2 separate regions of the Homo sapiens genome follow, and region 2 is linked to region 1. The links are contacts of gene promoters, found by promoter capture Hi-C in blood cells and fetal thymus (Javierre and others, 2016). All regions are on one chromosome and are shown on one strand. Each heading gives the region's core, a stretch centred on a gene start or on the middle of the fragment in contact. The rest is flanking DNA. Distances are from core to core; before and after follow the strand shown.

What was found. Contacts are between HindIII fragments. The CHiCAGO score rates a contact against its expected background, and 5 or more counts as called.
Region 2: a fragment that was not itself captured here is called in contact with the fragment with the promoter of ANKK1 in region 1 in 1 of 17 cell types (naive B cells); the score reaches 5.0 in naive B cells.

The regions. Positions count from the first base shown.
Region 1 is chr11:113,386,434-113,392,011 of GRCh38, forward strand. It overlaps ANKK1 (ankyrin repeat and kinase domain containing 1), which reads left to right and starts at 1,346. Exons shown (of 8, transcript NM_178510.2): 1 at 1,346-1,636. The coding sequence starts at 1,452. The HindIII fragment of the contact is 6,156 bases long and covers 1-1,688 here.
Region 2 is chr11:112,291,172-112,296,393 of GRCh38, forward strand. It overlaps LINC02762 (long intergenic non-protein coding RNA 2762), which reads left to right. Exons shown (of 4, transcript NR_126004.1): 2 at 2,556-2,758. Among named protein-coding and RNA genes, the nearest start is that of LINC02762, 23 kb to the left of the region's middle. The HindIII fragment of the contact is 602 bases long and covers 2,699-3,300 here.

The DNA.
Region 1 (5,578 bases), core at 96-2,595:
CCTCATCTGTGAATAGAAGATGTTGACCTCATAACATTGTTGCAAGATAAACAGGATAATATATGTAAAGCAATGCAGTAACTGAAATAGTCACTGATCCTGGAACAAAGTGAGTGTTCAATTAGTAGTGGCTATCACTAGTTTCTATGACAACTGTCTCCAGGCCCAATCTTTGATCCTTAATCTGCTTGCCAGAATTCATCCTGGAAGTTGCAGGTAAGTTGTTACAGAGGGAGCAAGTTCTCCAGCTTCCACAGGGAGTCTCTGTTTGCCTATCATGCCTACACTGTTCCCTGGGAGTCTGGTGGGCTTGTGGCATGGACGAGGGGCTCTGCAGGTTTGGGCTGAAGGCAAGGCACTTCCTTGTCTGGTAGGTAGGCTCCTCAAACCTAACAGTGATCACTCTGAGGGCTCCTTGTGGACTTACTCAGCTGTAGGCAAATAGTGGCTGACTCTGCACTCCGTGGCCACAGTTCCTCCAGGTATGCCTGTCTCTGGGCAATGGCCCACTTGGTCAGTGCCCCTGGGGAGACCTGTCTGTTCAAGCACTTGTCATTTTCCCTGCTCTGAGGGTCTCCAAGGTGAGAGGGCAATCCCATGGACCCAGGACCCAGGGGAACCTCCAAGCTCAGCACTGGTCAGGCTCCAGCTAGAGCCTCCTCTCATCCCTGGCAACAAACTGCCCCTAGTAACTGCGCCAAGGAGGCCACCTCCCCCGTGGCCACCCCGAGGCTGGGGTCCATCCCTCTGAGGTTGGATAGAGCGCAGCCCAGGAAGGGAGTCCCCTGCAGACAGGAGCCCAGCCTCCCCCGCAACTCTGTCCCTGCTGACCCCTCCTTGGTAACCTATAGCACACCAAGGCTGGCTAACAAACAAACAAACAAAACCCCAACAAGAACAAAGGAAACATGAAACCAGTCAGACCAACAGATTCAGACCAGAAAATCCCCATTAAAATTGTTTGAGCCCCATACTTGCTGGATAGGGGCAGGGGTCCAGGCCTGAATCCTTCATAAACCATAAAACCTTGAATGCACTGAAGGAATGCATAAACCGATTTCACTTAGCGCTGGGCCTAAATAAACTGGATCCAACTTCTCAGGCTGGACTTCTTCCAGCTTCGGGACACCTTCTCCCAGCATCCCTCCCTAGGGGGAACTGGGGAAAATCAAAGGCTGAGACAGGGGAAATGCGAGGGCTTCGGAGGGACATACCCTCTTCCCCAGGCCCAGGTCGCTCCATCCCTGCTGGGGCCTCAGGGCTCATGTCTGGGATTTCCCCACCTTTGCGGGGCAGGAGCGGCTCCTCTTGGGCGGGGAAGGAGGCAGGGCCGGCTCGTCTCCCCATTCCCCTCTCCCGGACCCGAGGAGCAGGAAGCGGCGGCTCCTTCGGCCACCCAGGCAGCAGCCACAGCGGGGAGTGCGCGGCGCGGGGACAGGAAGAGAGGGGCAATGGCTGCCGACCCCACCGAGCTGCGGCTGGGCAGCCTCCCCGTCTTCACCCGCGACGACTTCGAGGGCGACTGGCGCCTAGTGGCCAGCGGCGGCTTCAGCCAGGTGTTCCAGGCGCGGCACAGGCGCTGGCGGACGGAGTACGCCATCAAGTGCGCCCCCTGCCTTCCACCCGACGCCGCCAGGTACTGCCAGCCTCGCCCTCCCCTTTCTCGGAGGAGAAACTGAGGCCCGGCAAGCTTTGGGCCCAGGGAGCTTGCGAGGAAGGAGTGGGCTGAGTTTGGGGCTGAGGACTGTCCCCCGCGGTATTTCTGAATTCCACCCAGTAGCCTGAGCCTCCCAGGCACACCCATACCTGTCTCCCTAACCAAAATAGAGTTGGCACATAATACCTGTTTGTAGACTCAACAGAGGTCAAAGGCAAGCGGGAACTACCTACCAAAGACGCCTTTATCCCATCTGACCTTCCGAACTTGTCCTGCCTGCTTCCATCCTTCTCTCCAGCGCCTTCTTCCCCCGGTGTCCTGTGGCAATAACTGCTCTTGACCGCTCTCTGCCATCCTCCTACCCACCCCAGCTCTCAGGGCAGGGCTGAGCATCCTGGGAGGCTGTGGCACTTTGCTCAGATCTGCAGGGAATCATGTTCTCTCTTCCCACGGTGGCGGGAGGGAGGAGGCCCCTCCCAATCAGTGCAGGCTGAGGAGGTCAGGGGATGGAGACTGCCCGGCCTGATGGCCTGTCCAGGCCCTTGGAGGGTCAAGTCTGGAGTTCTCTCATCTCTGTTTTTGTTTTTGTCCCTTGCTGTCATGCGCACTACAGCGACGCCTTGACATGCCCCTATTTTTCTCTTCCTACCTCTTTCCTACGTTTCCATTATTCTCTGTCTTCCCACTGATTTGGAATCCAGTCTCATTCCCACTGGAGTTGCATATACTAGCTGTGTGCTTGCACCTTGCAGCCATGAAGAAGACACTCGGGATGTTAAACCTGAGCATGATAACCATGTCCTCCTCCCAAGGCTCTGGGACATCAATTAGAGAGTCCGGGACGGGGGTCTCTCTGACTGGCATCTGGCTTGGATGCTATCTGTGGTTCTCTAGGATTACCATGCAAACTCTTAAGATACAGCCTCAGGTGCCACACACTCAGTTCCCAGGCCTTCCCCCACCTTATGAGGAGAGGAAAAATAAGATCGCCTAAGGCCCACTCACCTTCCTCCCTCAACATCTGCCTGTTGGTTTTGGAGGAGGGTCAGAGTATGCTAGGATTTGTCTAAATCATTTATAGCCTTTTGAATATAGAACGAAAGGAAACAGATGGCAGTGACATGATTACACTGTGAGACATTGATGCTAACTCCTGCCACTTTCCCTTCCCAAGTTCTGGGAATTCCCTGGGTGGAGGGGGTAAGATAATTAATGGTAATTAAGACTTAGTATGTATGGATTACTATACTAGGAGCTTTACGTGCATTACTTTACTAGATCCTCTTTCCAGCTATTCATTCATTCATCCACTTGACAAATGCTTACTGCTCTTCTACTATGTGTCAGGCACTGTTCTACACCCTGGGATTAACGATGAATGCAACAGATGTGTCCTTTCTCTCCGGGAGATTGCAGCCTAGGGGGAGGAAGACATTAACCAGATAACCCCACATGTAAATGTAAATGTGCTACTGTGAGAAGCTTAAGAAGGGGAGATTTGTGGCTCTAGGAGAGCTCATTAACAGAAAGTTTGACTGATATCAGAAAAGGCTTCCTTGAAGAAGTTACACTACAGCTGAAATGTGAAGAATGAGTATAAGTTAAGTAGGTGAGGAGGAGAAAGTTTTCCAAGAACAGACAACAGAGTGTGCAAAGAATCTGTGGCAAGAGGGGCATGGTAAGTACAAAGATGGGAAAAGGCCATGATGGCTGGAGTTGGGAGAGTAAAAGAGCAGTGGAAAACCACTGAGCATTTACAACCAGGTAGCGGTGGTGACCATGGGAGGGATTAATCAGAATTGCAGTATGGAGAATGCATTGGGAGGGGTAGAGTGGATTCTGGTTAAGTTAGGAGATTGTTATCTTCATTCTGATGAGAGACGGATAATAGGGGCTAGAGTGGAGTGTTGGTAGTGGAGATAGGAAAGGAATGGGTCAAGCCATATTTAGAAGGTAAAAATCCACCCGACTTGGTGCTGGATTAGTCATGGGGAGGATCACGATGAGGAAGAGGGGTATTAAAGCTAACTTGATGTCTGGCTTGCCCAAAGGAATGGAGGATCCACTAAAATGTCCACTCCATGAGAGTGTCTGTTTTGGTCACAGCTCTGTCTCCTGTGCCTGGCACAGAGTTGGTGTTCAATAAATATTTATTGAATGGCAGTGTTGACAATTAATGGAGAGACTATGAAAAGAGGCCTAGACTTGGAGAGGAAGATCATGAGTTCAGCTTTGTACCTGTTGAGTTTCAGATGCCTTTAAACAACCAAGAAGAGTTGTCATGGACATCAGAGTAAAGGTTGGTGCTAACAATATTAAAACTTGGGAGTCATTTGTTATAAGTGGTCATTAAAACTAGGGCATCAGGCTGGGCCTGGTGGCTCACGCTTGTAATCCCAGCACTTTGAGAGGCCAAGGCTGGTGGATCACCTGAGGTCAGGCAAGACCAGCCTGACCAATATGGTGAAACTCCATCTCTACTAAAAATACATAAATTAGCTGGGCGTGGTGGTGGGCACCTGTAGTCCCAGCTACTCAGGAGGTTGAGATAGGAGAATTGCTTGAACCCAGGAGGCAGAGGTTGCAGTGAGCCAAGATCATGCCATTGCACTCCAGCCTGGGCAACAAAAGTGAGACTTGGTCTCAAAAAAAAAAAAAAACAAAGCAAAAAAAAGGCATGGAGGAGATGCATTCATTCCAAGCACTACGTGAAAAAAACAAAGTCCTTGCCCTCATGAAGCTTATAGTCTAAAGGAGGAAGACAAAATAAATAGCAAATGAATAATAAACTTTTTAGCTATAGCACTCATGACCACCTGACAGTTCTTGATTAAAATATCTAAGAAGGGTTGAGAAGTCTGATTTTCCAAGAAATGGGTTGGTCTAAAAATATTAATGCCAGGGCCCTCTGTGTATGGGGAATATAAGAGTTGGAATGGGGTTGCTTTTTTATGTAGACTTCTCTGTGAAATCCATACTAATTAGGTACCATTTGAGTAGAGATTTGAAGGAAATGAAGGGGTAATCCATGTGGCTCTGTTAGGGAGGAGTGTTCTAGGCAGAGAGAACAACAGGTGCAAAGGTCCTGAGGTGGGACCACACTGGGCATGGTGGAGGAACAGTGGGAAGCCCGTGTGCCAGGGGCACAATGAGAGGAGGGTGATTAGGAAAGGAGGTCAGCAAGCTATGCCTGGCATTGGGGACAAATCTTGTAGGACTTTCTCAGCCATGAAAGAACTTTGGCTTTTACTGTGAATGAGGAGAGCCATTGGAGAAGGGCAGTGACATGTTGTGACTTAGATTTTAAAATATGACTTTGGCTGCTGGGTTGAGAATAGATTGTGGAGAGGAAGCGGGAGAAACAGAGTCCAATTAGGAGGCTTGGGCTGAGATGCACCTTGGGGGAGAGGTGGTGAGAAGTGGTCAGCTTGTTGCTCGACAGTATTTTGAAGGTGGTGCTGGCAGGATTTGCGAAGACTTGGCTGTGGGAAGTGAGAGGAAGAAAGGAGTCGAAGATGACACCAGGGTCCTATTCTGAGGACTAGAAGGACAGAGGCCCCATTCACTGAAATGATGAAAACTAAAGGAAGAGCAGGTTTCAGGGGAAAATCAGGAGGTTAGCTTCAGACACATTTGGTATTGAATATCCAATTGGAGATGATGAGGTTGACTATAGAAAGATTATAGAGGGAGAAGAGCAGAGAAGAAGGGCTTGGACTAAGCCCCGTGGTCAAGTAACAGGATATGAGCCTGCAAAGAAAACAGAGAGGAAGTGACCAGACAAGTAGGAGAAAAGCAGGAGAATGTTGACACGTGGCTCAAGTAACGAAGTTTCAAGAAAAAGAGTCAGAGATCTGAACTATACACTGAGAACTGAAAATTATTGGTTAGATATAGCAACATAGAGGCTGTTGGTGACCT
Region 2 (5,222 bases), core at 1,750-4,249, 1.1 Mb before region 1:
CTACTTGGATGGTGATTGTGAGCATTAAATTAAATTCTGGAGGGAAAATATCTGGTATTTGTGTACTGATTTCAGGTCTCAGTGCTGTGTGTGTAATGGTTACCGTGAGAGCTTCCCTGCAATCCGAATTTGTGTGTCTCATTCTCAGTGACACCAGTGATGCTGTTAAACAAGGACAATCCGGTTCATGGATTGTGACAACGCACGCTGACATCAAGCAGACCCTGCCGTCAGGTACAGAGGGCACCACAGTGACCAGGAACTGCTGTCCTTTCATACCAGGTTTTAGGAGGCTTTACCAGAAGGAATGGAAAATGCTGGTGGGCAGTAAGATTGAAACAGCATCTGAGGACTGGTTCTGCACAAAACCTTAAATTCTTCAAGGACTTTGACATTTGTTTATTCTTGTAACAAATTAAAACCTATCCTGTGTGTTGGTTAGAGATCTTCAAACTGTAAATACCTTGAGGCAGGAGTGAGGTTTTTATCTTTTAAAGGACAGGCCCCTACTCTCCTACGTAATGAGTTTCTAAAAATGGATGTGAGCACCAATCAATATTTCTCTGGTTGTTAAAGTCAAGAATAAAATGGTATTTTTAAGCTCGCAACTGTGTAGGATGAATTCTGTACACTTTTATTTCCCTCTGTTCTCCTTTCCTATTTGAAAGTTTATTAGTTTGTGGACTTGGGATCGGATTATTCATGCATTATTTTTTGATGTTGTATGTCTCTTGGTTCTTGGGTATTTTTGACACATATTCTGTCTTGTAACCATAGTTAAACAATTGTTTTAGACCAACTCTCTGTGTGTAATTGGCTTCAACACTCACTGCTAGTCCTTTGACGCTCTGTTTTTTTCCATTCTTGAGTAATTTTAAGTCATCACTTGGGCAGTTGAAATATATTTTAAAGTGATTTAAAGAATATGTGAGTGGCAGACATTCTGAACTCTTTTGGTTGTCTGTCCTCAAAAACTAAAACTTATTTGTGAGTAAAATTTTCATCTAAGTGTTTTCCATATAAAAACTCTGTCAGCTACTGCTCCATTGTAGTAGACACAAAAAAGTCAGCACAATTTTCATCCCTCCCTCCCTCCCTTCTCTTCCCCTTCCCCTTCTTGCCCTCCTTCCTTCCTTCCTTCTTTCCTTCCTTCCTTCCTTCCTTCCTTCCTTCCTTCCTTCCTTCCTTTTTCTTTTGTTTCTGAATGTACAAAGAAAACACTTAAAAATTTGCTTGTAATTTAAAAACTTGTCAGGATATTTCTGGATTTGAGTGTTTCTTGGTTACTTTTACCTGGAACCTGGTGAACTGAGTCCATTCCTCTGTTTGCCCTTTCTGTACTTTTTTGGAAAGTTTTCTTTAATTATATCTTCAATTATTGTTTCTCTTTTGATTGTTCTAGATTCTTCTTCAGAAACATAACTCTTAGGCTCAATCTCTATTCCTGGTCTTCCATAGCTATCGTCTTCTTTTTAAAGTACTGTATTTTATTGAATCTAAGCTAGTATTTGTTGTAAGAAGCACTATTATTATATGTACAACTAAGGAAGAAAAAATGCTGCCAATTAAACTGTGACATAATGCCATGATTACAGTCCTGTGAAATTGGTAAGTTGCTCACACCATTCTCTCTCTTATTTTGATAGACTTCATCTATTTTGAGGGACTTGGCAGTTGCTCCTGCCTTTGGTTGCATTGTTTGGCATGTGACAGGCAATTCTTTTTGCATGAGTCTCAGTTACAAAACATAACACAGTTTCTACTTAAGGATACCTTCTTTTCTTGGGTCCTGTCAAGCACTTAGTTTAAAAAAAAAAAAAGAATTGCAGTGGTTGGTCCAATAATAGACATTTGCTTCAGTAATATCAAATTACATCCTGCTGCTTGAATTCCATGCCTTTCTGCATACATAATAACTTCTCATTTCAATGCCAAACCATAGTGTAATCTTTTAAAAGACATTTTAAATGGCAATTAAACTCACATGTAATTGCAACAATGTATACAACTCAATTAAAGTGCTAACAACATGAACAACTGAGACCAAGTTCACCCATGCCCAGGTCTTGATGACCTCACCATGGCAGCTCCCTGGCCCAGGGTGATTATAAGATGCCAGTGATTGCAAGACTTGGCCTGATTTCAGAAGTGATGATGTGGCAACACAGACATCTTAGAATTAAGGAAATAGTTTTAATTCTTGGTGCTCTTTCTTGGCATTCTGAAAGTGTTCCTCCAGTTTGCCATCTAAGATATTCCTTAGTTTTCTGCCATGTCCATTTCACTCATTTACTCCTTCCTATATGACTTTTAATTATTGTTTAATAATTTAATTTTCTTGGGAATATCTTTCTCTTGTTACAACCAGTTTCCTTTATATCTTTTCTTGGACTCCATTGGCCAAATTCTCTTTCATAAGCCTGAAGCCCCTAATATTTACCCTGAGACTGTATTCTAGTTAGTAGAATGTGAATGGAGGTGATGTGTGTGACATATAGGACTTCCCCATAAGAGCCTTTAATGAGTTGTCCTCTGTTCTCTTTCCCCTCTTCCAGCTGAGTGCCATGAGAGGACAGTGACAACCTTGGGGCCTCATGGTGAAGGTGGCAGAAACTTTGTTAGCCTGGGTGCTCAGGGTGGACAGCTGCTCTTGCCAACCGGGAACATTTGCCTTGAGCTCTTTTGTAAGTGACAGATAAGCTTTTATTGTACTTCAGCCAAGATACAAACATTGGACGTATTTGTACAGCAGCTAAAGGTACTATAATAATACATATTCTGAAATCACTATGTACCCTAAAATATTTTAACAAAATTCTTGCAATATTTGTATGAGAACTGCTGGATTTTGCTTTCTTACCAAATTTGCTGTTGCTACTGAAAAAAGAGAATAACTTGGACAATGAAATGATCTCAAATGAGGTAATAAAATCATTACTGAATTTTAACAGTCCCATCATTTCTGCCAAAAAAAAGAAGCAGCTTTAGAATGCCATTCTTCTCCAGTGGGTGTGTGCTGGTCTGATTTGCTCGGACGTTTGCAGAGGGAAGAACACTTACAAGTAGTAAGGGGCTGAAGTCTGAGTGGATCATATCTGAATATTGTTTAATATTGTTTTAGATGACATATTTTTTAAAACTCCACTCTTCTAGCTAACTGCTTTCTCTTGATATCCTAAAAGTTTTGCTTCACTGTTTATTTTAAAAGAATCACAATTAGGTCTAACATAAACAAGGGAGCCGGCCCCCCATCACACTTTTGTAAGAACCTAAAATGTCATCTCACATGCCAGTCTTTGAAGCTTATCCTGATATCAGTTTAACTCAGCTTGTTTTCTGTATCTATATATCTATATGTATTTGTGTGTGTGTATATATATATGTATGTGTATATATATGTTTTTCAGTTTCAATTTCATAGGGCCATATTATGTTTTTATATTATAAATGCCAGTTTTAAAACATTTTCTTCTGGTTTCTATAGTAAGTTATCTTCAGAAGTGTGCTCTTTTTCTTAGTCTTCTGGGTGAGGCTCTGTTTCCCTTATTCTCTTATGGTGAATGCTGTTTTTCCATAGGCCTCCTGAGGGTTCCCTCCCCTATATCCCCAATTCCAGCCTGGCACATTGTTTACCTTTAAGCAAGTAGAGCTCCATGGAGCCTTGGTGCTTGCTTGCTAAAAGAGGAAGTGTAGACTGTGCAGATTGTCCTTGGCTTTGCTCACTGCCTTATTCCTAGGTCTGTAGCTGAAGGTCAGTTGTGGTGCACAGCTCCCCAGAATTGAAGGGCATTCATCTTGTGCGGCCCTGCTGAACTGGCATGGGATCTCTCCCTTCCTCTTCTGCCTATTCTCTAACAAACAGAACTGATGGGGGATGTGAAAATCTTACTCTCCAGCACAAACTACCTTTGTGCTTCCTATAAGGCATGCTGTGTGGAAAAAATGCCTTCCAAAACATGACGTGCCATTGCTAATCCTCTTCCCCTTCCTACTCTGTGGTTTCCCAGTAATTGCATTCTATGAATGGATGTAGATAGAGGGAGAGGGAATAGTTCTCCGGCTCCTCCAAAGAGTAGCAGTCATAATAGAGAGCCAGGTTTTCATTTGGCTTGGTCCTGGGTCTCTGAACTGGGGGTAGACAGTAGGAGAGAAAGAAAATGTCTATCATCTTTCGAGACAATGTGCTGTTCTGTTTTCTAAGGCGAAGCATGGACTGTTTGTCTCAATGCAGCTCAGCTTTAGCAGCTTTATTTAGTTAGTAGAGATTCCTTCTAGATTCTGGTAACAGGTTGTTAGTCTTCATTTTCATTATTGTTGTGAGTTTTTGTCATTTTTCTGTGTAATAAATAATTTAGGGAGAAGTTTGGAGACACTTTGTCAGGAACTTCTAGCCAAATGCCATTTTAAACTCTAAGTGGACCTGATTTTATTTTACTTAAAAAAATTAGGTCTGGGAATGAGTTCAGTTTATTTATTCGTCATGTTCTGCTTGCCTTAAACCACTTATGAAGTGTCCGCGGCCTCCAAGGTTGCCTTCCAATGCTTTTCTACATCTCATTGCTGCCTGCACCTTTGGAGGAGGCAGGGTGAGTGAGACCTTTTTTGGTAGCTTGTAGCCATGCCAAGCAGTCATCAGATGGTGGGTAATTTCTTTTACCTAGGGTCTCATTCACGGTTCTTTGGTTGTTAATAATAGAAACCAACTACAGCCAGTTGTGGGGTAGCGGGGTGCGGGAAGGGGAAAGAGTACATTGTGATACTGGGATATCTTACAAGATCCCAGGACAATTGGGCCTTTTAAGAGGTGGGACTGGGAGCTCTGAAGCTGTTAGGAGCCCATAGTCCTTGTTCATTCTCTTCCTCTGCATCCCTGTAAAAGAAACATTAATTGCAAACAAAGTCCTGTTCAGGGTGTACATGTGACTTTGCTCCTCACGTGCATGGCATAAAATGGATGCCCCATAGCTCCTGAGTTTTCCTCTTGTTTATCCAAGTAACCAGCTCAGATTGACTGGATGCCTCTAAGTCCTAATTTCAGACTCCCAGGGAGAGAGAGAACTGGATGGGCTTGGGTCACGTGACCACCCTAGTCCAGTCGATATGGATGTGTGTCTGTGTATGAGATGGTACAAGCATGACTACTGGCAGTTGTCAGAGAAAGGGGCTTATTTTGAACTCGGCAAGTCCCTGCCACCCTTGGCTTTTGGAATCAAACCCCCTAG